Regions from separate parts of the Homo sapiens genome. Here regions 1, 2, 3, 4, 5 and 6 are each linked to region 7. The links are contacts of gene promoters, found by promoter capture Hi-C in human tissues and cell types (Jung and others, 2019). All regions are on one chromosome and are shown on one strand. Each heading gives the region's core, a stretch centred on a gene start or on the middle of the fragment in contact. The rest is flanking DNA. Distances are from core to core; before and after follow the strand shown.

The links. Contacts are between HindIII fragments. The study calls those that stand out against the background at their distance.
Region 1: a fragment that was not itself captured here is called in contact with the fragment with the promoter of FBXL14 in region 7 in 1 of the 25 tissues and cell types used here (aorta).
Region 2: a fragment that was not itself captured here is called in contact with the fragment with the promoter of FBXL14 in region 7 in 1 of the 25 tissues and cell types used here (dorsolateral prefrontal cortex).
Region 3: a fragment that was not itself captured here is called in contact with the fragment with the promoter of FBXL14 in region 7 in 1 of the 25 tissues and cell types used here (dorsolateral prefrontal cortex).
Region 4: a contact is called between a fragment that was not itself captured here and the fragment with the promoter of FBXL14 in region 7, in 1 of the 25 tissues and cell types used here (dorsolateral prefrontal cortex).
Region 5: a fragment that was not itself captured here is called in contact with the fragment with the promoter of FBXL14 in region 7 in 2 of the 25 tissues and cell types used here (dorsolateral prefrontal cortex and spleen).
Region 6: a fragment that was not itself captured here is called in contact with the fragment with the promoter of FBXL14 in region 7 in 2 of the 25 tissues and cell types used here (adrenal gland and dorsolateral prefrontal cortex).

Annotation. Positions count from the first base shown.
Region 1 is chr12:890,025-894,067 of GRCh38, forward strand. WNK1 (WNK lysine deficient protein kinase 1) reads left to right here. Exons shown (of 28, transcript NM_018979.4): 22 at 429-489. Among named protein-coding and RNA genes, the nearest start is that of RAD52, 58 kb to the right of the region's middle. The HindIII fragment of the contact is 7,049 bases long and covers 1-4,043 here.
Region 2 is chr12:666,001-670,051 of GRCh38, forward strand. No RefSeq gene overlaps it. Among named protein-coding and RNA genes, the nearest start is that of NINJ2, 4.6 kb to the left of the region's middle. RefSeq lists an enhancer at 643-1,142. The HindIII fragment of the contact is 6,399 bases long and covers 1-4,051 here.
Region 3 is chr12:936,191-940,287 of GRCh38, forward strand. The region is part of intron 1 of RAD52 (RAD52 DNA repair protein); the gene reads right to left. Among named protein-coding and RNA genes, the nearest start is that of RAD52, 11 kb to the right of the region's middle. The HindIII fragment of the contact is 4,320 bases long and covers 394-4,097 here.
Region 4 is chr12:784,335-788,357 of GRCh38, forward strand. The region is part of intron 1 of WNK1 (WNK lysine deficient protein kinase 1); the gene reads left to right. Among named protein-coding and RNA genes, the nearest start is that of WNK1, 34 kb to the left of the region's middle. The HindIII fragment of the contact is 4,373 bases long and covers 1-4,023 here.
Region 5 is chr12:831,065-835,060 of GRCh38, forward strand. The region is part of intron 4 of WNK1 (WNK lysine deficient protein kinase 1); the gene reads left to right. Among named protein-coding and RNA genes, the nearest start is that of WNK1, 80 kb to the left of the region's middle. The HindIII fragment of the contact is 7,038 bases long and covers 1-3,996 here.
Region 6 is chr12:920,395-924,629 of GRCh38, forward strand. The region is part of intron 7 of RAD52 (RAD52 DNA repair protein); the gene reads right to left. Among named protein-coding and RNA genes, the nearest start is that of RAD52, 27 kb to the right of the region's middle. The HindIII fragment of the contact is 6,705 bases long and covers 1-4,235 here.
Region 7 is chr12:1,593,318-1,597,409 of GRCh38, forward strand. It overlaps FBXL14 (F-box and leucine rich repeat protein 14), which reads right to left and starts at 1,264. Exons shown (of 2, transcript NM_152441.3): 1 at 1-1,264. The coding sequence starts at 749. RefSeq lists enhancers at 339-528, 1,899-1,968 and a silencer at 769-1,638. The HindIII fragment of the contact is 15,118 bases long and covers 1-4,092 here.

The DNA.
Region 1 (4,043 bases), core at 1,309-3,808, 700 kb before region 7:
TCACTGCAACCATCACCTCCCAGGTTCAAGTGATTCTTCTACCTCAGCCTCCCGAGTAGCTGGGATTACAGGTGCCCGCCACCACACCCGGCTAATTTTTGTGTTTTTATTAGAGGCGGGGTTTCGCCATGTTGGCCAGGCCGGTCTCGAACTCCTGACCTCAAATGATCTGCCCACCTTGACCTCCCAAAATGCTGGGATTACAGGTGTGAGCCACCATGCCTGGCCCTAAAAGGTGCCTTTCTTTACATCAGACTTTTAGACTTTAAAAGAAAAAGGAAAGAAGATAAAATGTTCTCAGACATAAGTGTTTCATCACATATACTGTCTTTCTGCCCTTTTACAAAGACCATAGGAAAGGCAACGAGGCAAAAGTTTGAGTGACTGAAGCTAAAGATTTGTGGTGTCTGTCTGTGTGTGTTTTACAGCCTGTGTCCATGGCGGCTCCAACAGCAATCACAGAAGCAGGAACACAGCCTCAGAAGGGTGGTGAGAAACATCCTTCCTCCTTTTATATTACTAATTCCAGCCCTACCCGTAGTTGATTCAGGAGGTTTACCGTTTCAAAGACACATTTCCACGTATTTGATAACTGAGGAGCATTGGTAGTAATATCTAAAGCTTGAAAGATTAGCAAATTAATAAATCTGTTCCGTTATTATTTGTCAGAGGAAAGGTTATACAGGAGGTAATGATAAGACCCTTCATTATTAGCTATGCCAGATCCTTGCTATTAGAGATTAGGAAATTAAAGCATACTGTATTTAGAAAAGTAAATTTACTGATAACCTCTTAGCTTTTGTGACACTGGATATATAGGGATAGAAGCTTGAATAGTCTGGACATATATTTGTATTGAAATACAAATGTAAGATTTCAGTTAATCAATTTAAACATTTTTATTTTCAAGGCAATTATATTCTCAATTGGCTCTCATTTTAAAAGTGATTTGCAAATCATTAGAATGGTCTAGAAATGGAAAAATGAAAGGGGAATGTAGATTATCAAAATATGTAGAGTATCAAGTATGTACAATGAAAATAATAAAGATTACTACCAATAAAAAGAGAATGTAGAATATGAAAAAGGTAGCTTTTCAAATCATTGGAAGATGGAATATTTCTTTTTTTTTGAAGTGGAGTTTGCTCTTGTTGCCCAGGCTGGAGTGCAGTGGCATCATCTCGACTCATTGCAACCTCCACCTCCCAGGTTCAAGCGATTTTCCTGCCTCAGCCTCCCAAGTATCTGGGATTACAGGCATGCACCACCACACCTGGATAATTTTGTATTTTTAGTAGAGACAGGGTTTCTCCCTGTTGGTCAGGCTGGTCGCAAACTCCTGACCTCAGGTGATCTGCCCGCCTCGGCCTCCCAGAGTGCTGGGATTACAGGCGTGAGCCACCGCGCCTGGCTGAAAGATGGAATATTTTTATAAGTGGTTTAGAACAACTTGAAAGCCATCTGGAAAAAAGCAAAGGTGGATCACTAGCCTAGACATAAGTAAAGTCCAAGTGGACCAAAGATGAAATATTATATCATAAAATAGTACTATATGAAATCATAAGGGGATTTTTTTTCTTTTTTTTTTTTTTTTTAGTTTTTTAATTTATTAGTAATAACAACTTGAGAATTGCATAGTATTAAGGCATCAGTTCTTGGAGTGTGGGCTGAGGACCCTTTTGGGGTGCCTATGAGGGCAACACTATTTTACAGTAAAACTAAGACATTATTTTCCTTTTTCACTATAGACAAAAATTTAGCCAGCTGTGGTGGTGTATGCCTGTAGTCCTAGCTAATCGGGAGGCTGAGACGAGGATTGCCTGAGCCCAGGAGTTCCAGGCTACAGTGAGCTATGGTTTTGCCACTGCACTCCATCCTAGGTGGCAGAGTGAGACCCTGTCTCAAAAAAAAAATCATGCATGAACAAAAAAATGTATAGGTCAATGGATTTTAATGGCCACAGTTATGAATATCTTATTACTATTATTTCAGATCCCACATTATAACTAACTTTTTTTTTTTTTTGTGGCTTGGAAATCTTTTTTTTTTTTAATTTTATTATTATTATACTTTTAAGTTTTAGGGTACATGTGCACAACGTGCAGGTTTGTTACATATGTATACATGTGCCATGTTGGTGTGCTGCACCCATTAACTCGTCATTTAGCATTAGGTATATCTCCTAATGCCATCCCTCCCCCGTCCCAAGGGGATTTTTTTCAACTATCTAGAGCAGGGTTCACAAACTCTTTTTCTGTAAAGGGCGAGATGGTACAAATTTTAGGCTTTCTAGACCATATAGTCTCTTGCAACTTACTCAGATCTCACAAGTAGCAATGGACAATACATAAATAAATGAGTTTGTGTTTCAATAGAATTTATTTACAAAAACAGGCAGTAGGCTGAATTTGGTCCATGGATCAGTTTGGAGTTCTCAGATAAGTTTAATAGAGGTGTTAAGTTCAATGTCTAATCCAGAAGCAAGTAGTAATAGATATAAAATTTTCTTCATGGAAGAAAAGTGCCACCGATTGCAAATATAAATGAAAAACTGGGGAAATATATATATTTGTGGGAGGGGGAGGGGTATGTGTAGTCATATCACAAAAAGAACTCGTTTTGCTAATACAAAGAGTTCCTAAAATTCAACATGAACCAAAAAACAATCAAAAGATAACAGAAAAGGAAACTTAGACATGAAAATATTTAATGTCCGTAATGATAGAAACACAAAGTAAGGCTACAAGTGATAGCAATTCCCACCTCTCATTGGTAAATTCAGGGGTCTAATAGCCACCAGTGACTTGGTACAGCCTCTGGGGGGATCAGTTTATAATAGTGATGTCTACTACAGTCTTAAATGGAAATAATTCAGCACTTTCATTGTGGTATATTTATTGTACAGATCTATAAGAGAATATTTATTTCTAAAATAGCAAGAAATTCTGGGCCGGGCATGGTGGCTCACACCTCTAATCCCAGCACTTTGGGAGGCCAAAGCAGGTGGATTGCTTGAGCCCAGGATTTCGAGACCAGCCTGGGCAATATAGTGAGACCCCCATCTCTGCAAGAAATTTTAAAAATTAGCCGGATGTGGTGGTGTGCACCTGTTGTTCTAGCTTCTCAGGAGGCTGAGGAGGAAGGATCACCTGAGCCTGGGAGGTTGAGATTGTGGTGAGCTGTGATGGCATCACTGTACTCCAGCCTGGGTGACAGAGTGAGACCCTGTCTCAGGGAAAAAAGAAAAGAAATTCTGAATAATTTAAATGCCCATCAGTAGAAGCCTGATTAAATATGAAATATATATATGGTATATACATAGGGTATGACACTATGCAATCATTAAAAAGAATGAGGCATTGATATGGAATGATCTCAAAGATATAGAATTACATGAAAACATAAAAATCGCTCAATGTTCTACTAGCTGTATAAAATAAATATATCTCTAGAAAGAAACTCAAAGCATTGTTCCCCGGAAAGGTTTTTAAATTGCCCAAAACTAAATAATTCTGAGGGCTGGGTGCAGTGGCTCACGCCTGTAATCCCAGCACTTTGGGAGGCTGAGGCGGGCAGATCACGAGGTCAGGAGATCGAGACCATCCTGACTAAGACGGTGAAACCCCGTCTCTACTAAAAATACAAAAAATTAGTCGGGTGTGGTGGTGGGCGCCTGTGGTCCCAGCTACTCGAGAGGCTGAGGCAGGAGAATGGCATGAACCTGGGAGGTGTAGCTTGCAGTGAGCCAAGATCGCACCACTGCACTGCAACCTGGGCAACAGAGTGAGACTCCATCTCAAATAATAATAATAATAATAATAATTCTGAGAACTGTACTATCCTATTCTAGAATTTGCCAGTGTTACATTGAGAAAATAAAATTAGCTGGTTTTCATTTAACAATGGATCTTGGCTGGACATGGTGATTCACACCTGTAATCCCAGCACTTTGGGAGGCTGAGGCAGGCATATTACCTGAGGTCAGGAGTTCAAGACCAGCCTGGACAACGTGGTGAAACTCCGTCTCTACTAAAAATATAAAA
Region 2 (4,051 bases), core at 1,286-3,785, 930 kb before region 7:
AAAAAAACTTTCTGGAAAACCTTATTTCGGATGCCAGAAGCAAAATATTAACTATTTATTTCTCTTTGCACTCCTGTTGTGAAAATCCTCATTATCTTTTAAATAATATGGATACATCTGGCTGAATAGAGGGAAACAGGAACAAAAAAATGCAAAAGAGAAAAGTACTCGAATATATTTCAAAAAATTTCCTATTAATAAGCACATTGGTTTGAAAAGGAAACAGCTGTAATTGGTTATAATAATGGTTTTGGTTTGGCAAGATCTTTCTGGATTTGGACCTTTCCCCATCTCATAAGCATCATTTGGAAGTAAACAGAAAAAAGGCTTTGGAAAATGGTTTATCTACCATATCACGCTGTAACCCTGGACCAGGGGTCAGCAAAGTTTTTCTTTTTCATTTTTCCCTTTTATAAAATTCAAATTGCTATATGAAGCTTTTTTAATTTTAATTTTAATTTTTTGAGACGGGGTCTCACTCTGTCACCCAGGCTGGTGTGCAGTGGCACAGTCTCTGCTCACTGCAATCTCTGCCTCCTGGGCTTAAGTGATCCTCCCACCTCAGGCCCCAACCCCCAGCCCAGTAGCTGGGATTACAGGCGCGTGCCACCATGCCTGGCTAATTTCTGTATTTTTTGTAGAGACGGGGGTTTCGCCATGTTGCCCAGGCTGGCCTCAAACTCCTGAGCTCAAGCGATCCGCTCACCTCGATCTCTCAAAGTGCTGGAATTACAGGCGTGGGTCACCATGCCCAGCCAGTAAACTTTTTCTGTAAGGGGCCAGAGAGCCAATATTTTTTAGCCTTTGTGTGTCATATGGTTTCTGCTGCGATGACTCACTTCTATAATAATGTGAAAGCAGTCATAGACAACATGTAAATGAACGAGTGTGGGAGTGTTCCAATAAAACTTTATTTACAAAAAGAGTCAGATATTCATAAAAACAGACCGGAGTTGGCTCCACAGGCTATAGTCTGCTGACCCCTGCTCTAGGATTTAATCAGAGTCTTTGAAGTCTAATTCCCACTTGAGAGGCAACTACTGAGTCTCTACCACGTGGATATTGGGTTAAACACTGCGGGGATATAAAAGCACCACATGCACGCCCTGGTGAGACAACTGATGGCAAGGGAAGCTGTAGTGAAGAGTGTTGCTGCCATTTGGCTGGTGCTGAAACTGCACCTACGTGGAGGTTATCACTGTGGGTGGAAATGGTTTCTATTGTTCTTTACTGCTAGGGTGATTTTTGTGGTGTAAAGCCAGAGGGACATTTTTAGGGAGACTGTCTCTTGGAAAGCATATTTTGGAATATCCTTGAACTTACAGATAAGTAGACACTCAGAGTGACTCAGAAACTACTCTGAGTCTAGTTTCATGGAATGAGGGGTCTACAATGAGACCCTAGGTATCTTGCTATGTAGAAGGAGCAAAGCATTGTTGTAGGGTACTGAAGAAGGCAACAGCAAGAAGATCCTTTAATTTTGAATTGTGGGAAAAGCTCTAGGGTGAAAGCCAGGTGGCCTGGATTCCTCTCTGTGTGCTGAGTCACTGTGTTTTTAGGCAAGTCACTTAACTTCTCTGGGGCTTACATTCTTGTTTGTGAATGTGAAGCTATCAAAAGAGTTGATTCCTAAGATCCCTCTAGCTCTTAAATTCTGTTTCTAATGTGTGTTTTGGCCAGGTGTCGTGGCTCACACCTGTAATCCAGCACCGAGGTAGGCAGATCACCTGAGGTCAGGAGTTTGAGACCAGCCTGGACAACATGGTGTAACCCCTCTCTACTAAAAATACAAAAATTAGCTGGGCCTGGTGGTGCATGCCGGTAATCCCAGCTATTTGGGAGGCTGAGGCACAAAAGAATGGCGTGAACCCAGGAGGTGGAGGTTGCAATGAGCCGAGACCACAACACTGCGCTCCAGCCTGGGTGACAGAGTGAGACTCTGTCTCAAAAAAAAAAAAAAAAAAAAAAAGTTTATATTAAATACTTCCTGTGTAACAATATAAAATCTCAGATACAGGTCTGAATTTCAGTGTGTAAAAGTTGAGGGCTAGAAATTATTGGCTTTTTAAAAAATTGAAGCAGAGCAAGAAGAATCTAATGCTTTTAGTTTAATTTTACCAATAAGACCTTCCCTGATGGAAAATTTATGTAATTAGAAAAATTTTAGGGAAAATTACCACTGTCTGTTGCCCCTGCTCATGGAGACTGAGTAGGGCATACCCACGTCAAACAAGATACAGAAGTGAGAATAAAAGCTGACTTCAAAACATTCTTACAAACTTGCTTATGCCCATTTACACATGAACTCAGCTGCTTTCAAATTCACTTCTCCAGGAATCCCAGGGCCAACAGGGATGGCAAAGGGAAGCTTTCTGAGGGCCTATGGAGGGAGCTGGTAGTGCAGTAAATGTTATTGAACATTTCCATCTTCACTCTTCAATATAGTAGCCATTAGCCACATTAGCCAATTGAGCACATGAAATTTGGTTGGCTGAGTAGGAATTTGAGTTTTAAATCTGATTTAGTTTCAATAAATTCACATATTTTGATTTTATTTATTTTTAAATTTATTTTAGAGACAGGGTCTTACTCTGTCACCCAGGCTGGAGTACAGTGGCACAATCATAGCTCACTGCAACCTCGAACTCCTGGGCTTAAGTAATCCACAACCTTAGCCTTCCCAAGTGCTGGGATTACAAGCATGAGCTACTGTGCCTGGCCTAAAATCACCCCCCACTTTTTTTTTTTTTTTTTTTTTGAGACAGAGTCTTACTCTGTCCCACAGGCTGGAGTGTGCTGGCGTGATCTCAGCTCACTGCAACCTCCACCTCACAGGTTCATGCAATTCTCATGCCTCAGCCTCCTGAGTAGCCAGGATTACAGGCGTGTACCACCATGCCCAGCTAATTTTTCTGTGTATTTTCAGTAGAGACGTGGCTTCACCATGTTGACCAGGCTGGTCTCGAACTCCTGACCTCAGGTGATCCGCCCACCTCGACCTCCCAAAGTGCTAGAATTACAGGCGTGAGCCACTGCGCCCAGCCTCTAAGTTCACATTTACGTGGTTACATTTAAGTAGCTAGTAGCCACCTTCTCGGCCAGTGGAGCTATCAACCAAAATTCCACATTTAGAATCCTGTCATTGTGTATGTGTCACTTCTATTTGGCTGCTCACGCCTTGATAGATGCTCACGGGGCCTGACTTCACACAAATAGGAAGTCAGGGCACACAGCTCTCGTGGGAATGCCCCACGAGGCCTGGGGATGCTCTTGGTGGTGGTGAGTAAAATTTCCCTTCACTCTTTCACATTCAGAGGAGGGGGATTTTAACTGTGACTCACTGTTCAATGAATGATTAAAAACAGAGCCTCCGGTTGGGCGCGGTGGCTCACACCTGTCATCCCAGCACTTTGGGAGGCTGAGGCGGGTGGATCACGAGGTCAGGAGTTCAAGACCAGCCTGGCCAAGATGGTGAGACCCCGTCTCTATTAAAAATACAAAAAAAGTAGCTGGGCATGGTGGCGCGCGCCTGTAGTCCCAGCTACTTGGGAGGCTGAGGCAGGAGAATCGCTTGAACCCGGGAGGGGGAGGTTGCAGTGAGCTGAGATCACACCACTGCACTCCAGCCTGGCGACAGAGCAAGACTCCGTCTCAGAAAAAAAAAAAAGGTGCCTGGCACTCTCTTGGTGGCTTAAGGGAGAGGAATAGATGATCTTTTCTTAGTGATAGGAGAGAGACAAAGATCAGTGGTTTGCAAACTTTTTAAAGATAAGAAATCCTTTTCTTAAACGTAATCTTATGTGGAAGTTAACATAAAGCAGATTAAAGTGAAGCTGTTTGAATGCTAGAGTCACATCCACTTCTGCCCTATCTGTCCCGCCACCTACCCCCCGCAACTGCCCCGTTCCATTTCTCGAGCTGCCCCTTAAGGCACCTCTTGGGAACCAATGGACTTCTGCTCAGGAGGCATATGGTAATAAGCCTCTAAGGGCTGGTGTGTGGGGGGGCTGGGCAACCCCAAGTCACACAAAATTGTGTGGAGGTTTCAAGT
Region 3 (4,097 bases), core at 1,304-3,803, 660 kb before region 7:
CTACTCGGGGGGCTGAGGCTGGAGAATTGCTTGTACCCGGGAGGCGGAGGTTGCAGTGAGCCGAGACCACACCACTGCATTCCAGCCTGGGCAATGGAGCAAGACTCTTTCTCAAAAAACAAAACAAAACAAACAAAAAAAATTCAGTCTTTTATTGAAGGACAATCTTATCTTTGTCCATAAAGTAAATGTGAAATATTTTTTGCCTTTTTTGCTCTTTTACTTTGAAAAAGATGTCTTACTATTCTGCTTTCCTTCCTAAAACTGTCTACAATGGTTTTTCCATTATAAAAGTAAAAAAAAAAAAAAAAAAAATTTAAGAGACAGCGTCTTGCTCTGTTACCCAGGCTGGAATGCAGTGGTGCAATCATAGCATACTGTAACCTTGACCTCCAGGGCTCAGGTGATCCTCCCACTGCGGCCTCCAGAGTAGACAGGACTACAGGTGAGTGCTATCATGCCAGGTTAATTTTTTTTAAAATTTTTTTAGAGATGAGTGTCTCACTATGTTGCCCAGGTTGGTCTTGAACTCCTGGGCTCAAGGAGTTCAAGTGTTTTTTATGTGTGCATATTCGTTAAACAAAGGTAGAATCCAAATGCATTAGGCATATCTTACACAGCACTTCAAATCTTCTTGGCCTTGTGTGTCCTTGAGGCCCTTGGTCACTTTGTCCACTCCAGCTGTCACTGGGCTGATCAAACACGTCTGGGTTATAACCAACTGCCCACAGGCACAACCCCACGGTCCCTTACCTCCTGCTCATACTGGGTACCTATCACTTCCCACCCGTGGCTTGCTGCTTGCCTTGGAGGTGTAAGGGTCTGTGGGACCCACCTGGTACCCACACATGCACAACCTAGAAGTCTATGGGAATTAATGTGCCATGAAGCAAACCTTTTTCCAGTGAGATACAGAAGCTGAGGGGTCCGTCCACCCTTCCTTTAGATGGATTGCCCTGGAATGCAGTTATGTATACATCCTCCTGGGAGACAGCTTTAGGAGAACAAGCAACCAACTGTACTTGCACCAAGGGCAACCAACTTCAAAATGCACCCTTGAACTGACTTAATCTTCCTTCTCCCTTCACTCACCTTTCCCCTACCTCTGCTTCCTGAGAGCACACTTCTTGAAAAAATAATAGCACATACGCTCTTGCCTCAAGCTGTAGGTTCTCCAGGTTCTAGGGTACCCAGGTATAGCAGACACTACGGATGCTCTACTCAGCATCCCTTCAGCTTTTTTTTTTTTCTGAGACAGAGTCTCGCTCTGTCACCCAGGCTGGAGTGCAGAGTGGTGTGATCTCAGCTCACTGCAACCTACACCTCCCAGATTCAAGCAATTCTCCTGCCTCAGCCTACTGAATAGCTGGGATTACAGGCATCCACCACCACGCCTGGCTAATTTTTGTATTTTTAGTAGAGACGGGGTTTCGTCATGTTGGCCAGGCTGCTCTCGAACTTCTGACCTCAGGTGATCCGCCTGCCTCATCCTCCCAAAGTGCTGGGACTACAGGTGTGAGCCACCGCGCCCAGCCATCCCTTCAGCTCTTACCACAATAGTGCACCCTATTCTGACTTCCAAATGCCAACATCTGCATCTTGTTACCTGAGAGCTTTCTTTGGTATCCAGACTACTTTGCACCTGTTTATGGCAAGCTGTAAGCACCAGAAAATTGAACCACCCTGGCAGCAGCCCTCAAATGGTGCCTGACAGGAGCTGGTGTTGAAATACGCTAAATTTCTGACCCCTCTGTGGAACATCACCAAGCCATGAGCTTCTCCAGTGGAATTAGGTTCCCCCGTGGCAACAGGCTTGAAAACTCACCCTTTGTTGTCAAACTTTCCTTTCCTGTCTCCCTTCCCCGCTCCTCTACTGTGTAAAGGACTAATCTCCAAATAAACTACTTGGGAATAAAAAGGAGGGCGGCAAAAGATGCCTTTACAATGTAGAAACCTGGGAGTTACCACCTTAATTATTAAGGAATCAAACTTAATGTCACCAATTACAGTCACATCATGTGCTTCCTGATGGACGCACTAAGAAGGTCCCATCATTGAGGTAGTATTTCTACCAACCTAATCATCAGGAAACAATCAAACAAGTTGAAATCTACAAAGCAACTGGCCTGGACTCTCCAAAGCATCAGTGTCTCAAAAAGCAAAACAAAATAGAATGGCTGGTGAACTCTTTTATGTTAAAAGAGGCTTAAGGCTGGGTGTGGTGGCCCACGCCTGTAATCCCAGCACTTTGGGAGGCCAAGGCGGGTGGATCATCTGAGCTCAGGAGTTCAAGACCAGCCTGGCCAACATGGTACAATTCCCGTCTCTACTAAAAATATAAAAAGTAGCTGGGCATGGTGGCACACACCTGTAGTCCCAGCAACACGGGAGGCTGAAGCAGGATAATCACTTGAACCCAGCGGGTGGAGGTTGCATGAGCCAAGATCATGCCACTGCACTCCAGTTTGGGTAACAGAGCAAGACTCCATCTCAAAAAATAAATAATAAATAAATAAAGACTTAAGAGGCATGACAACTAAATGCACTGTGTGATCTTCAATGAAATTTCGGATCAGGGATAAAGAAAAGCTATAAAGAATATTATTAGGACAATGGGAGAAATCTGATGATGGGATGAATATGAGACTGCAGCCACAACCTCCTGGGCTCAGGTGATCCTTCTGCCTCAGCCTCCCGAGTAGCTTAGACTACAGGTGTGCACCACCACAGCTGGTTAGTGTGATAATTATATCGTGATTCTGTAGGACAATGGCCTATCACTAGATGTATGATTTTGTATGATGCAATATTGGAGTAAAGTGTCATGTTTTCTGCAACTTACTCTCAATTCATTCAACTAATTGTGTGTGTGTGTGTGTGTGTGTGTGTGTGTGTAGAGAGAGAGAAAAAGGCAAGTAGATAAAGCAAAAGTACAAATTTATGAACCTAGGTGAAGGATATGCAGACATTAATTGTAAATTTTTTTTTTGAGACAGTCTCGCTGTGCCACCCAGTGCAGTGAGGCGATCATGGCTCACCGTACCCTCAAACTCCTTGGCTCGTGATCTTCCCACCTCAGCCTCCTAAGTAGCTGGGACTACAGTTGTATAACGCCACACACGGCATATTTTTTATTTTTTGTAGAGACACGGGTCTCACTATGTTGTCCAGGCTGGTCTCAAACTCCTGGGCTCAAGCAATCTTCCTGCCCAGCCTCCCAAAGCACTGGGATTACAGACGTGAGCCACTGCACCCAGCCCACTGTAAAATTTGTCCAAAGGCTTCAAATCTTTCAGGATGAAGTGTCAGGAAAGACTACCTGCATAGCCAAGATTATGGCAGCTATATAAATCCAAATATCCAAACACATGTCCAAAAACTACACAGACCAACCAACCGGAGAAACAAAGAAAATCACCAACGTCTCATATCTTCAACATACTTAGAAGACTGAAAATACTACAAGCTTCTAATTACCCATAAGTAGAAAAACGTCAATTTCTTGTAGAGATGTTTCTCAATCTCTCATCTCAGCTCTTTAAGGACAGCAAAGAGGGATCCAGATAGGAAGAGAGATGCAAAGAAGAGAGAAGAGGGCTGGGCGCACCGGGCGCGGTGGCTCATGCCTGTAATCCCAGCACTCTGGGAAGCTGAGGCAGGCGGATCACGAGGTCAGGAGTTTGAGACCAGCCTGGCCAAGATGGTGAAACCCCGTCTCTACTGAAAATACAAAAATTAGGTGGGCGTGGTTGTGTGCGCCTGTAATCCCAGCTATTCGGGAGGCTGAGGCAGGAGAATCACTTGAACCTGGGAGGCAGAGGTTGCAGTGAGCAGAGATCACACCACTGCACTCCAGCCTGGGTGACAGAATGAGACTCTGTCTCAAAAAAAAAAAGAAGAGAGAAGAGGACAATGGAGAGCCTAAGATGGAACTAAAATATCACCCTGAAAAAGAAAACTCACGGTAAGTATGAAAACACCAACAAAGAATTCCGTTAAATCGGGAGGGAGGAAGGGAAGGTCGGGTAGAGACACTTTTAAACACATGCAGAACTTGATGAGGTAGTCTTGAAAACGCAAGCCTTCTGGGAAGAAGG
Region 4 (4,023 bases), core at 649-3,148, 810 kb before region 7:
ATGCCAAGTACCTCTTGTTAAACTGTTCAACAGCCTTTCCCTACCATCTCAAGAAGTTGGTGATAAAAATTATCAATAATGAATTACAGTTTTTTAATTTTTGCCTTTGATGTGATTGTCTTATTTTATAATATGTTAGCATTTAATATGAATATTTTTGTTGACATTTATTTTTTATTTTTAAAAATAGCATTATTGAAGTATAGTTGACATAATAAAATGTACATATTTAAAAGGTACAAATTTAATAAGTTGTCCACATCCATGAAACCATCACCACAGTCAAGATATTTATTACTATTTTCCTGAAGTCTTCCCTCCTAGCTGTGCAAATCTCCTGTCACTACATTAAAACTTTTAGATATTCTTCTTTTTTGGAGATAACCTCTCTTAAACTTCTAAACTTCACCATTTGTACTGGTTGCATTCTAGGTTGATGCTTAGGTTGGGGATCTTCATTCATTCTCATTTTGGAGATTCTTCTTATATCTAGCTGGTTTTTGATCCTGCTTCCAGAATCCCATTTCTTTCTCTTTCTTGGTCTCCTCATTTGTGAAAGAATAACTTCATAACTCTTTGAGAAAGGTCATTTGGGAGATAAATGTATTTTTGAGAACTTACATGTCTGAAAATATTTTCCTTCATCTTCCTTTCCCTTTCCTCTTTAATAGGTAGTTCGGATAACAAATTCTAGATTGGAAATAATTTATTTCAGAATTTTAAAGACATTTATTCTATTTTCTTCTAGCTTCCAGTATTGCTGTTAAAGTCTGAGGCTAGTAGGATTCTCTGTTCCCTGTAACCTATTGTTTTTTTCCTCTGGAAGTTTTCAGGTTTTTTGTCTTGTCCTCAGCGTTTTGAAATTTCAGCAATGTGCCTTGGTATGGGTCTCTTTTTTCCATTGTGGCTTTTTGTCTGGAAACTCACTGGCCATCAATTCTGAAAATTTACCTTCTACTCATTTCATTTCTTGCCCTCTGTTTTTTATGTTGCCCCTTCCAGAACTCCTGTTACATATATGTTGGTTCTCCTAGACCAATGGTCTAACGTCCATATCATTTTCTCCCCCCCCCCCACCCCCTCGAAGTGGAGTCTTGCTCTGTCACCCAGAGCTGGAGTGCAATGGTGTGATCTTGGCTCACTGCAGCCTCCACCTCCCAGGTTCAAGCAGTTCTGCCTCAGCCTCCCGAGTAGCTGGGATTACAGGCACCCGCCACCACGCCCAGCTAATTTTTTGTATTTTTAGTAGAGACGGGGTTTCACCGTGTTCGCCAGGGTGATCTGGATCTCCTGACCTCGTGATCCACCCGCCTCAGCCTCCCAAAGTGCTGGGATTACAAGCGTGAGCCACCACATGACCCTGCCTTTTCCAGGTTCCTTTTTTTGGTTGTTGTTATTTGTTACTGATTTTAGTTGCTCTTTAATTTTATTTATTTATTTTTTTGCTTCCCATGTAGATTGGATGCTCTTTAAAGACTTTTTTCAAGTAATCCCATGAGCCTTGGTTGTCGCATTTGAGTTGGGCACTGAAAACTGATAAATAAATGCGGTTTGCTGATTGTGGGCCCCAGTATAATCTGACTGTACTGTTCTGGCATCTTATGAAATGCAGATGTTGGGATCTTTAGAGCTGTTCATTTATGCTACTCAGATCCCTAGTTTTATATGCCAAAGTATAACTTATGCTTTATGTGATTTCCACTTTAGAGATTTTATTAAAACTTTTTATTTATAGTCTAATGTATGCTGTTGTAAAAATTGAAGTTCTATGTTTATTTGAAAATAGTATTTATTAAGGGAAAAAATCTGTATTTGTTAATTGTATTGCTTAAATTCCATGTATTTTTGTTGCCTTAGACTACTTGATTAGCTGATATTTGATAAACGTGTCAGCCCTACAAAATAATTGTGGATTTGTCAATTTCCGTTTGTATTTCTAACAGTTTTTATGTTATATATTCATAGCTTTATATTTAGGCTGGGTTAAGCATGAATGTTATATACGTAAATAATTGTACTTTTTATCAATATAAAATATGCAGCATTTTCTCAAATAATTCTCTTTGCTTAACACATTCCCTTTTTATATTGTCATTCTTTTTTCACATTTGTTTTATTTGTTCCTCTATCTTCCCTTTTTTTTTTTTTTTGAGACAGAATTTCACTCTTGTTGCCCAGGCTGGAGTGCAGTGGCACAATCTTGGCTCACTGCAACTTCTGCCTCATGGGTTTAAGTGATTCTCCTGCCTCAGTTTCCTGAGTAACTGAGATTATAGGCTCCTGCCACCAGGCCTGGCTAATTTTTGCATTTTAGTAGCGACAGGGTTTCATCATGTTGGTCAGGCTGGTGTCGAACTCCTTACCTCAGGTGATCCACCCACCTTGGCCTCCCAAAGTGCTGGGATTACCAGTGTGAGCCACTGTGCCTGGCCCTTTATCTTCTTTTTTATGTCATTTTAATTTTGATGTGTTTCTTATAAATAAACAGTGTTTAGACTTTTTTTTAAAGCCTGTTCCACAGGTTTTTTGTAATAGAGAACTTTAACGTACATTTATAGTAATAATTGGTATGTTTGGAGTTGGTCTTCTTCCTGCCTTCTATGTGTTTTAATTGGTATGTTTGGAGTTGGTCTTCTTCCTGCCTTCTATGTGTTTTATTTCTGCCTTGCCTTTCTTAGATAGATTTATTTTCTTTGCATTTTACACCTAGTAGTCTATCTTTTATGTAATTTTCATTATTTAAGTGACTTAAATGAAATTATGTATTTTTCATTGTTAATTTTTAAAACACCTACATATTAGACTATAAATCTACTTTATAAAAATAAAATTATTTCTCTACTTTTATAGGTGGTATTGTGGAATGGCAAAGCACAGACTCTAGAACAAGGCAGCTTCTGTTTACACCTTGGCTTGGCTTTGCCACTTTTTTATTGTAATCCTCTTGTGCATCCATTTCTTTTTTGGTTAAAGTAGAGATGGGGTCTCACTGTTGCTGATCTGAAACTCTGGGCTCAAGTGATCCTCCTGCCTCAGCCTCCCAAAGTGCTAGGATTTCAGGCGTGAGCCACCAAGCCCACGTAGGTACCTACTTCACAGAGGTGTTGTTGAGTTTAAATATGTTAATATATGTAAAGCACCAGAACAGGGTCTGGAAGTCAATAAATGTTAGCTATTATTAGGTGTCAGTTATTAACAAAAGCTTGAAACTACATTATTAGCGTAGTTCTTGTGGGTTCCTGTGTTTAATGCTTGCCTGGTTCTTAACCTATATTAGCTTTCTGTGTGTTTAAAAAAAATCTTTATCTTTTGTGTAAGTCGGTTTTCCTTATTCTTACACACTTTAATGTATGTAGGCTGCTCTGTTGTAAAGACCATCTGTCTTCTGCTGGGCTGAGGACCTCTGTGCATTTCCACTCTTTGACCATCTCAGGACAGGCACAACAAAAAAATGTTAAAAACTTAGATGTTGTCATGGATATGTGGATGCTTTACATTGTGTGTGTGTGCGTGTGTGTGTAATTTTAGTGTGAAAAATGGTATCAGGTTTCTCCAAGGCAACAAAACCATTAGGAGATTTTGTATATAACAGATAGATATTATATGTAATTTCAAGGAATTAGTTTACTTGGTTGTTGGGGCTGGCAAGTCTGAAATCTGTCTTCTGGTTGAGCTGGCCATTGGGTTGGGAACTCTAGCACAGGAGCTGATGCTGCACCTTTAGCCAGGATTTCTCAGGAAATCCCAGTTTACTGCCTTGTAAGTGATTAGATGAGACCCAACCACATAATTGAGGGTAGTCTCCTTTACATAAAGTCAGCTGATTGTAGGTTTAACCATATCTACAAAAATACCTTTATAGCAACACCTAGTTAGTATTTGATAGAATAATTGAATACTGTGGCAAAATTGTAACATAAAACTAACCATCACAGATGAGTATATTATTTCACAATAGATTGTCCTTCATATCAGCTTCTTGAAATTAAAAAAAAAGCTACTGTGTGTAATACTATATGGAAA
Region 5 (3,996 bases), core at 563-3,062, 760 kb before region 7:
TTCTATATTTCTGTAAGGAGAAGTTTACCTTAAAATGGTTGGGGTAGGTTAACAATGTAAAAATAATTTTGTCTTTTTTACTCGCATTCACCCAAGAGTGTACGTTGTTGTTTTCCAGAGGCTATATGATACTGCACATATGATATTGCAGCAGAGTACATACAGAAGCATATAAAAGAATTCATTTGTAGGGCCGGGCGTGGTGGCTTATGCCTGTAATCTCAGCACTTTGGGAGGCCGAGGCAGGTGGATCCCTTGAGGTCAGGAGTATGAGACTAGACTGGCCAACATGGTGAAACCCCATCTCTACTAAAAATACAAAAATTAGCCAGGCGTGGTGGTGCACCCCTGTAATCCTAGCTACTTTGGAGGCTGAGGCCCGAGAATCTCTGGAACCCGGGAGATGGAGGTTGCAGTGAGCCAAGATTGTGCCACTGCACTCCAGCCTGGGTGACAGAGTAAGACTCTGTCTCAAAAAAAAAAAAAAATTCCTTTGTCTTCCATTAAACCATATATTTAAAAAGATTACAAAAATGTAAAACAATACCAGTCTTATCACTAAATTTTTCTTGTTTTGGAAAATACTGACTTTTTAATTTTAAATATATATTTGTAACATAATGAGTTATAATTTTTAATGAATTAACATTTTTAAACTTTCTCAGGTTTACCATCTGCCACGGTAAATATTAATAGATGTAACACACATAGACAAAATCCCTCTGAGGTCCCCAATAATGTTAATTTTAAGAGTATAAAGGGGTCCTGAGACAAAAGTTTGAGAACCACTGTTCAAAAGTCTTGATAAAATTTAGGCTAAACATTTTTTGCAAGGATACTTAATATGTGGTGCTGTATATGTTATATTGCACCGAGAAGCTCATAGTATCTCATTATTTCATTTTTAGTGATGTAATTTAATTGAATTTTGATATAGAAGATGTAATTATCAATTGCTTATTTAGATTTTGATAGCTGAACAGAATGGAAATGTTTATTTTTAATTTTTTATTTATTTATTTATTTTTTGAGACGGCGTCTCGCTCTGTCGCCCAGGCTGGAGTGCAGTGGCGCCATCTCGGCTCACTGCAAGCTCTGCCTCCTGGGTTCACGCTATTCTCCTGCCTCAGCCTCCCAAGTAGCTGGGACTACAGGTGCCCGCCACCACACCTGGCTAATTTTTTGTATTTTTAGTAGAGATGGGGTTTCACTGTGTTAGCCAGGATGGTCTCGATCTCCTGACCTTGTGATCTGCCCACCTCTGCCTCCCAAAGTGCTGGAATTACAGGCATGAGCCAGAAATGTTTATTATTAAAAACTGATAGGAAACATTTTGCTTTAGGTAGACCAAATTTTACCTCTTCATAAAGGCTTGGGAGAAATCTTTGGAGTCAAAGATTAATTATAATTATTTATTGCTGTGAATATTCCTTCAATATCCTTGTTGTATATTTGTATGTGATTCTGTTGTTGATGGATATGGAGCTACTTTGGACAATTAGTTTAATTTCATATGAAGTTTGAGGTTTCATACCCAGTAAAAATGACAGCTATTGTTTATGGAGAAAGTGTGTAACTCTCAAGTTACTTCTGGCTTTGTAATTGGGATGGTATTTTGTCAGTTATTATTATTAGGTGTATGTCTACAAGTGTCTGGCCTGAGGCCTTACTGTTAAATTTATTAACCTCTTCTTAATACTCACCCAGATTCTAATACACAATATAATTGTAATCCCTGAAGCACTGACTCTCAATTTGGGCTGAATGGGGGCAGGAGAAATTTTTTTATGCCTTCAGATGATTCTGATAAGTACCCTAATCATTATTCTACATTTATGCCCTTAGAAAGCTCATCTGCTTTGCCTTTCAGAGTTCTGTATCATCATTCCCAGTTCATGTCTCTTATTATTCCCCTTTCTTCCCCTGATGCGTTGTAATTTACATTCTCTCTTTTTTTTTTTCCTTTGAGCATAGGGTCGACTGTTTATTGGGTAATTTCCTCCTTTATTTTGTTTAAAATTGTAGAAAACTTAAGAGGTATATTTGATTTCTTGTTTTTTACTCGCTGCTTCCACTACTTCCAGTTTATAAGGTTCTTGCTTCAGAATACCTCTTAGATGCAAGCCTTCTTCATTCCCATTGCCACAACTCTGATTTCACATCTTCCTTACTGCACACCTTGCATTATATTCCAGAAGTAATTTACATTGTGAATTTATTTTTTTATTTCACTTAAACTTGTTGAGCTTTCTTGCTATCCTTTCTTGGTATAAGGAACTTAAGATACCAGTTTGCTGATATCAGAGCAAGTACAAATTCTTAATCTTTGCTATTCTTCATCTTCATCCAAGCACTCTATTTTAGTTAAATCAGTTCTCTTCATTATCTCGCACATATGCCACATCCTTTCCTGTATTCCTATCCATTTGTAAATGTTATATAATACTGTACCTCCACTATAAGCTTTTCTGCTATCCAGTCAATCCATATACTTAACGGTCTTCCTCCATGACATTTTATCTGATTGGTTTCACTGTATAATGATCTTTGCCTTTTCTGAGCTGATTCTTCTCAATTGATATGAATGATAAAATTTTGTTTATTAGTGGTTATTCTACTTATAAATTCATAAATTCAATTAATGTACTTGCTTATTATTTTTATTGCTTTATATTCCTTAAAATATTTTAATCTAGTACATCTGTATAATTTCATCCTTATCTGTAGCACTATCCTAAATACAAAATAAATCTCAGTGCCAGTAAATGCAACATTTTCTGAATCCCTGCTATGTCCCATGCCCAGAGCTTGATACTAAGTAAAGGTGAATAATCATATTCCCTGTCTTCAGAAAACTACCTCTAATATAGAAGATTAATATGTAAACAAAGAATTATAATTACATTATGGTGAGTATTGTAATGGAGACAAGCACTAAGGAGAGTGGAGGAACAATGGATAACCCTGCTATGGATTAGGGAAGATTTCACAAAAAGAGCTGTTGTATGAACTGTCAAAAAGAGAAGGTAGAAGAATGGTGAGAGGCCATTCTAAGAAGCAGGAATAGGATTTACATGAATGCTGAGATGCCAAACACCGTAGTACAATGGAAGGAAAGGCAAATTGATCAAATAGAGTGAAGCTGTTGTCTTGGACAAATCAATTTTTGATCCAAGGACAAATCAATTGCTACTTAGTTTCTCCTGCTCCCAAATCCTGTCTCATCTCAGAGCAGAGAGTTTCCGGTTGGTAATTAAGAGGCAAACTTCTGACTGCTGATATGTGTTTTTACTGCTATTATATTGTTGTATTTTAATGGTGAAAGAGACTTTATCTGTTTATAGGCTTTTGGAAGGAGCAAGAGGAAGAGAGAGAGAAGTAGAAATCATGGTGGGTGGTGGTGGATAGGGTAGAGTAATATCCAGGATTCAATGGGCTTGTGACATGGTATAATGGTAAGTCTTGATAGGGAAGGTTTTCTCCTGAGGTAAGGGAAGCAAGATGGGTTTTGGAAGCAAAGTCTTGGGTTCACATCCTTGCCCTAGTTATTGCCATACGATCTTGAGCAATTCACTTAATTTCTCTGTACTTCAATTATTTTGTTCTCTGTAAAAGAGATACTATTACCCTCTTACAGATTGCTTAGCACAGTAGATAGTACTGGTACTGATAGTAGGCTGTGGTTATTGTCTATGAAATATGAGTTGTCATCTTCTTGGGGGGGTGTGTAGAATGAAAGATGGCCTTTAAGGATGATAAAGGCTTAAAATAACATCTATGAAACTTTGAACTGATTAGGAAATAATAATTGTGAAGCAGCACCAGGCATCCAGAATCTTCCTTTTTAGTATTGATAAACACTATTATGTAAACAATGAATATATTGTTTGTACGCGTGTCTATGTGTATGCAAGTGGAAAAGGGCAAATTTTTACCTATTACATACTTCTTTCTTGTGAATAACCAATAATAGGCTGGGCCTGTAGGCTCACGCCT
Region 6 (4,235 bases), core at 1,041-3,540, 670 kb before region 7:
AAATACAAAAAATTAGCCGGGCGTAGGTGGCGGGCGCCTGTAGTCCCAGCTACTCAGGAGGCTGAGGCAGGAGAATGGTGTGAACCCAGGAGGCAGAGCCTGCAGTGAGCTGAGATCGCACCGCCACTGCACTCCAGCCTGGGCGACAGAGTGAGACTCCGTCTCAAAAAAAAAAAAAAGAATGTCAATTCACCAAGAAGATATAACAATTATAAATATTTATGCACCAAACACCAGAGGTCCTAAATATATGAAGCAAACTTTGAGAGGATTGTAAGGTGAAATAAAAGCAACACAATAATAGTAGGAGACTTCACTACTCAACTTTCAATAATAGATAAAACAACCAAACAAAAGATGAATAAGGCGATAGAGTATTTGAACAATACTATAGGCCAACTGGACCTAACAGTCATATACATAACATTCCACCCACCAATAGCAGAAAATACATTCTTCTCAAGTACACATGGAACATTCTCCAAGACAGACTACATGTTAGGCCACAAAACAAGTCCTAACAAATTCAAGATTGAAATCATATAAAGTATCTTTTCAATCACAATGGAATGAAACTAGAAATCAACAGCAAAAAGAAAACTGGAAAATCCACAAATCAGTAGAAATTAAACACCACACTCTTAAAGTCAAAGGAAATGTAACAAGCCAACTTAGAAGAATTCCCAGAGACAAATGATACTACAACACAACCTACCAAACTTCTGGGGTGCAGGGAAAGAAGTCGTAAGAGGGAAGTTACACACATAGTTAAAAAAAAAAGATCTCAAATCTACGCTATACCTCAAAGAACTAGAAAAAAAAAGTTACACCCAAAGCTAGAAGAAAGGAAATTCTAAAAAGATGACAGCAAACATAAGTGAAAGAGAGAATACAAAAACAATACGAAAAAGCTCAATAAAAGTAGGAGTTGGGCCATATGGGTTTCTCACGCCTGTTATCCCAGCATTTTGGGAGGCCAAGGCAGGTGGATCACTTGAGGCCAGGAGTTTGAGACCAGCCTGGGCAACACGGTAAAATTTTTTGTATTCTGTACAAAAAATAAAAAAATTAGCCTGGCATGGTGGCAAATGCCTGTAGTCCCAGCTACTTGGGAGGCTAAGGCAGGAGGATCATTTGAGTCTGGGATATAGAGGCTGCAGTGAGCCGAGATCACACGACTGCCCTCCAGCCTGCGTGGGAGGATCACTCAAGCCCAGGATGTCGAGGCTCCAGGGAGCCAAGCCATGATCAGACCACTGCATTCCAGCCTGGGTGACAGGGCGAGATCTTGTCATGAGATGAGATGAGATGAGATGAATAAAAGAAATTAAATTAAAATAATAAAACAAAATAAAATGACAAAGGACTTGAATAGACATCTCTCCAAAGACGATAAACAGATGGCCAACAAGCATATGAAAATATGGTTGGCTGGGTGCGGGGGCTCACACCTGTAATCCCATCACTTTGGGAGGCCAAGGCGGGCGGATCACCTGAGGTCAGGAGTTCGAGACCAGCCTGACCAACATGGTGAAACCCCATCTCTACTAAAAATACAAAAATTAGCCCGGCATGGTGGCAGGCGCCTATAGTCCCAGCTACTTGGGAGGCTGAGACAGGAGAATTGTTTGAACCCAGAGGCAGAGGTTGCAGTGAACCAAGATTGTGCCACTGCACTCCAGCCTGGGTAACAGAGTGAGATTCTGTCTCAAAAAAGAAAATATGGTCAACATCACTAATCATCAGGGGTATGCAAATCATAACCCCAATAAAATATCACGCCCATTAGGTTGGCTTAAAAAAAAAAAAAAAAAAAAAACCAAAAACTCAGAAAATAACAAGTGCTGGTTAGGATTTAGAAAAATCTGAACTCATGTGCCCTGTTGGTGGAATGGTAAAATGGGGCAACTGTATGAAAATCAGTGTGGCAGCTCCTCGAAAAATTAAAAATAGGATTACCATGACCCAGCAATCCCCTTCAGAATATGTCTAAAAGAATTGAAAGCAAGATCTCAAAGAGAGTTACACACCCTCGTTCATAGCAGCATTATTCACAATAGCCAAGAGGTTGAAAGCAACCCAAATCCCCATCACCAAATGAATGCATAAACAAAATGTGGTCTATATATACAACAGAATATTCAGCCACAAAAAGAAGGGAATTCTGATACACACTACTACATGGATGAATCTTAAAGGCATTAATGCTAGCTAAGTGAAATAAGCCAGTCACAAAAAGCAAAAATTATGTGATTCCATTTATATGAGGTATCCAGAGTAGACAAATTCACAGAAACAGAAAGTAGACACATATACCTATAATCTCAGCACTTAAGGAGGCTGAGTGGGAGGATCGCTTGTAGCCAGGAGTTTGAGACTAGCCTGGGCAATAGCAAAACTCCATGACCACACACAAAAAAGTATTTTATTTTTATATTTTATTATTATTATTTTGAGACAGAATCTCACTCTGTCTCCCAGGCTGGAGTGCAGTAGTGCAATCTTGGCTCACTGCAGCCTCCACCTCCCAGGTTCAAGCGATTCTCATGCCTCAGCCTCCAGAAGAGCTGGGATTACAGGCAGGCTGACCACCGGGATTACAGGCAGGCTGACCACCATGCCCAGCTGATTTTTGTATTTTTTAGTAGAGACAGGGTTTCACCATGTTGGCCAGGGTGGTCTCAAACTCCTAGGCTCAAGTGATCTAACCACCTCGGCCTCCCAAAGTGCTAGGATTATAGGCAGGAGCCACAGCGCCTAACCTAATTTTTTAAAAAAGAAAAAAAGATCAAGACCAGCCTCAGCAACATAGCAAGAACTCACCTCTTAAAAAAAAAAGCCCCCAAAAAAAGTTAATTAGCTGGCTCCAGGTACAGTGGCCCACGCTGCAATCCCAGCGCTTTGGGAGGCCGAGGCAGGAGGATCACATGAGCCCAGCAGTTCATGACCAGCCCTGAGAAATTCTGTCTCTACAAAAAAAATAGTAATAATTGTTTAAAAAATAAATTAGCTAGGTGCACTGGCACATACCTGTAGTCCCAGCCACCTGAGAGGCTGAGGCAGGAGGATCCAGGAGGATCCCTTGGGCCCAGGAGTGCAAGGATGCAGTGAATTATGATGGCACTCCTGCATTCCAGCCTGGCTGACAGAGCAAGACCTCATCTTTCATAAAATAAATTAAAAAAAAAAAAAAAGGAAAGAAAGTGGAAGTAGTTACAAGGGTCTGGGAAAGGGGGAAATGCGGAGTTCTTGTTTTACGGGTGCAGGGTCTTAGTTCTGCAGATCAATTTCACAACAATGGGAATACACTTAACACTACTCGACCACACACTAAAAATAGTTAAAATGTGATGTGTTTTACTACAATTTAAAAAAAGAAAAGGCCGGGTGCGGTGGCTCACGCCTGTCATCCCAAAACTTTCGGAGGCCGAGGCAGGCGGATTACTTGAGGTCAGGAGTTCAAGACCAGCCTGGCCAACAGGACGAAACCCCATCTACTAAAAATAAAAAAATTAGCTGGGCATGGTGGTGGCTGGCACCTGTAGTCCCAGCGACTTGGGAGGCTGAGGCAGGAGAATGGCATGAACCCGGGAGGCAGAGGTTGCAGTGAGCTGAGATCACACTACTGCACTCCAGCCTGGGCGACAGAGTGAGACTATCTCAAAAAAAAAAAAAGAAAAAGAAAACTTGACTAATATCTCTCATAAACATAGATGCAAAAATGCCTAACAAAGGCCGGGCGCGGGGGCTCACGCCTGTAATCTCAGCACTTTGGGAGGCCGAGGCAGGCGAATCATGAGGTCAGGAATTCGAGACCAGCCTGACCAAGATGGTGAAACCCCGTCTCTACTAAAAAAATACAAAAATTAGCCAGGCGTGGTGGTACACACCTGTAATCCCAGCTACTCAGGAGGCTGAGGCAGGAGCATCGCTGGAACCCAGGAGGCAGAGGTTGCAGTGAGCCAAGATCACACCACTGCACTTCAGCCTGGGCGACAGAGCGAGACTCCGTCTCAAAAAAAAAAGTCTAACAAAATATTAGCAAACTGAATCCAATAATGTTTAAAAATGATTTTTTTAAAGGAGTTTTTACAGATGCCCAGTGACACACACCTTGTGGGGCTCCATGAGGACAAGAATCCCTCAGGCACAGGATGGGAATGCTGCCCTGGGGAGCGACATGGCAGGGACCTCGGAGAGCAGATGAGGCAGGAGGAACACTCCAGAAGCCACTC
Region 7 (4,092 bases), core at 14-2,513:
GACAGGTGCAGGAGGCCAGCGTCCGAGATTCCCCCACAGAAGCTGAGGTTGAGGAGCCTCAGGCCCGTCAGCCCTCGGGAGATGTGCTTTAGAGAAAGATCTGTGAGCTTCTGGCAGTCCTGTAGCGTGAGCTGCTCCAGGCCCAGGCAGCCCTCCGCCGCGCTGCGCGTCATGCCGGCCAGGTGCCCGATGCCCACATCCGAAAGGTGGCGGCAGCTGCGGAGGTTAAGGCTCTTGAGGCGCTGCAGACCCCAGGCGATGAGCAGAAGGCCAGTGTTGGTGATGTTGCTGCAACCTCCCAGCTCCAGCACCTCCAGGCCCTTGAGGTACTGGGCTATGCGGCCCAGGCTGCTGTCAGTGATCTGCTTGCAGAGGCTCAGGTTGAGAGCGCGCAGGGAGCCGATCTCCTGCACAAACGCGTGGCCCAGCCCGTTGTCGGTGAGGTTGTAGCAGCCGCTGAGGTTGAGGCTCTCGATGTTGGCCATGCCCTGGATCACGTAGCTGAGGCTGCGGCGGAGGCTCAGGATCTGCACCCGGCGGATGCCCCGGGCCTGCAGGCTGGGGAACAGCGACGGGTTGGCCCGGCGCAGGTGCAGCTTGGCCTCCACCCCCCGCCACACCGACTTGTGGTAGGCGGCGTCCCGCCAGGCGGTGCACACCTGCGCCGCGCGCCCCTTGTCCCGGACGTCCAGGTAGCCGAAGATCATGGCCAGCAGCTCCGGGAACAGGCATGAGATGTGGGTCTCCATCTTCCTCCTCCCCCCTCCGCGGCGCTGGGGGGAGGAGGCGCGGGCCCCGCCGCTCCGGCCTCGGGCAGGCGACGAGAGCGCTTCTCCCCAGCCGCCGCCGCCGCCGCCGCCGCCGCCTCGGGCCCAACGGCCGGCCCCTCCCCGCCTTCCGGCTCCGGCCGCCGCCGCCGCTCCTCCTCCTGGTCCGTCCGTCCTTCCTTCCTGCCGGCTGCGCCTCCGGCCCGGCCCTCCCCCGCCCCGGGCTCCGCACGGCGCTCACATCCCGGGCGGGGAAGGCGCCTCGCTCTCGCTCCCGGAGGCCGGCCGCCGCCGCCGCCTCGGCTCTACCCACGCCGCGCCCGGGCCGCGCCGCTCCGCCCGCGCCGCCGCGCCCACGCCCCCTGCCGCATCCTCCGCCTCCTGCCGCCGCCGCTGCTCCGCGGGCCGGCGGGCGGCGAGGGGGCCCCGGGGGCCGGGCGCACGGGCTCCGGGCGCGGAGGAGGCTTCCTGCTGCCTTTGTCTCTCGCCCGCTTTTCAAACCTCCCAGCCCCGGGCCGCCCGCACTCCGCCGCCCAGGCGGGGGGACCAGGAGGCCAATCCCGGCCGGCGGCGTGCGTTCCTTCTCCCCCGCCGTCCGCGGCCACTTGGGAGCTGCCGGCCCCCGCACCAAGGACGCCGCGGCCGTCCGGCCGGAGCGCGGCTCGGCGCAGACCCCGGGCGAGCAGGCGGGCCGTGCGTTTGGTAGCGCCCGGGCCGGCCCCGGCTCCGCCGCCCTGCAGCGCGTCCCCTCCGCCGCTCCCGCTCCCCCGCGCCCGCGCAATGGTACGGGCCTGCGCTGCCGGAACTGTGGAGCCGTTGCCCTGGAAACCGAGTTCGGCCTGGTCCCGTGGCCCCTGATTTTTAACCCTGTGGGCGCCACGGGGGAGCGGCAGCTGTCAGCAGAGCGCCTCCCCACCCGGCTTCTTTTCACCCGGTAGCCCGTTATTGAGCCGTTCCCTCTCTGGGCCACGCCCCAGCCCCGTTCCTTCTTTTTCTTTGCTGTTGAAGTCTGCGCAGCCCCTTCCCACAGTTTACCCCTGCAATTCGTTACCCTTATTTCACACCCCTCTCCCTTGATTATCCCTGCGAGAGCCGCCTCCTATAGCAGTGCTCAATAATCGTCACCCCAACTCTCCTTTTCTTACTGTCCCTAATGCCCCTTAACGCCTCATTATCACACCCCCTGCTCCCCCGGTTGGGGCTGTTTACTACGACGCCTTTCTCTCCAGTCTTGTGTCTTAAATTGGAGAGAAACTCGGCTGTACTCATCTTAAACAATGACCCCCTCCAGTCGGTGTTCTAGAAATTTCTAGAATTATCCATGACTACTTCCTTCTAGCATCTTCTGATGGTTTCCAGACACGCTGTGTGTGTTTCCCTCGGTACTTGATACATCAAAACTTCCCTCTACTTCTGAACGCTGCTGCGCCACCAATGCCCTCAGTCCGCTTTGCTTACAGGGGAACAGCCTTCCCCTAAGCCTTGTTTTAGGAGCTTTCTCCTTGTCATCAGCCTTAGACTATCAGTTGTATGGCTCAGTTGTACTGATAGTCAATATATTCGTATATGCTGAATCCAATTTACTTTTTGATTAAAATGGAATGACAGTTGAACTTGGTTTAAGACAATCCAGTCGTGTCTGTTGGTTTATCAACCGTTTTATGGAAGCAGGGCACAATTCCATTCTAGGATGTAGCCCCTGGGTCCTAAATGTCCGTACTAAGGATAGAATTTCAGAAGTTTCATTTTAACTACCCCCAAACCAAGAATTTTTGGATCAGAGAAAATGATCCTCTGTATTTTAATTTATGGATCCACACAACTAGATACAAGACCAGCGGATTTATCAGAAAGGGAAAATGGTTTCATTGATTCTTTGAGGACCTGAACAAGATTTGGAAGGGGTTCCATATTCAGTGTAGGAGAGTAACTTTTGCCCAAGCAACCACTATTAGACCAAATACATACAGATTCAGTAATAGGCATAATACACCTTTTACACCCCTACCACTCCTCTTTCCTAAATCAGGAAATGCAGAAGCAAAAATTCTCGCCAGCTTGTTACCTCACCCACATTACACGCAGTGTGGAGCCCATAGATTTTTATAACCTTCTTGAAAAAATAGACTGTACTGTTAGTCATCCAGTACATCCAGATGTACGGTGGCAGTAAGTGTCACGATTCTGGGGTATGCCTGGGCTTCACTCTTCTCCTGGAGGTTATCTAGGCTTTTATTCTTCTCAGTCACTTCTGCCTAAACGTTTACCTTAAATTCTGCGCAAAAGTCACTTTTTGATTGTTCTGTGCACCTAGATGTGTTTGGGTTGATGTCAAGGCCTTAATCCAAAGCACCTTAGTGTAACTTAATCCTGCTTAATAAAAAACAAAGTACCCCACACATTTGGGGGGAATTTTAGACAAGGGGCCTGACCAGCCTCGGACTAAGAAGGAGCCTAATGGTTTTCCTTCTCTAGAAAGGCCCTTGTTCTCAAATCTGAAGAGTCATTCAGAGGTATCTGGAAGCACTTTCTCTAGAAGTTGGCCATCTGGTCCTCGTTCTAACAACAGTTTTTCTTGAATTCTAGAATCTTATTAACACAAAGCCTTTTATTTAAGGCACTCAAGTATATATTATAAGGATTTTCAGCAATATGACTATTTTCACCTTCAATAAATAGGAAAATATAGCATCAAGAAGCATCACAGAAAAAGCATTCCCGGGGAAAAGGAACTAGGGCGTAGAATGAGCCCTATGCCGAATCTGAACACCTGGTGACTTTATGCTACTGAGGAAACGACTCTCCTTTCTGGGTCTCGGTTTCCTTGTGTAACACCAGGATGATTTGACTAGGTAATCTTCAGGGACCTTTCCAGTAGGAACACTCTGAGGCCAAGAGCCTAGCATACTGTCTCCTTAACCCATGGAACAATTACACATTGTTCCTAATGCAGGCTCCAGATATTAAGAATAACTTCGAATACAATAACTTCCTGGGAGCTTTGGTTTATGCTCAGACTTAGGACACAAAAATATATGAAGAATATGTATAGACAGGAGACTCTGATTGTCTGGCAAAGATGTATACCAATGTAGAAAATCCTGTGGCTTGCTCTTCATATTTTTAAAACTGGTTGAGATTTTTGTATATGATTTAACAAGTTGCAACCATAAGTTTTTTAACTAGCCTATTTAAAAGCAGAAATGATAGCCTTGTGTAGGGAGTCTCTCCAAAGCCTTACAAAGAATTTTTTTTTTAATTCTAGATTTTTCAGATGGAATGTGCTTTTCACCTGGGTAGGGTGGGAAAATTGAGAGGCCCAACC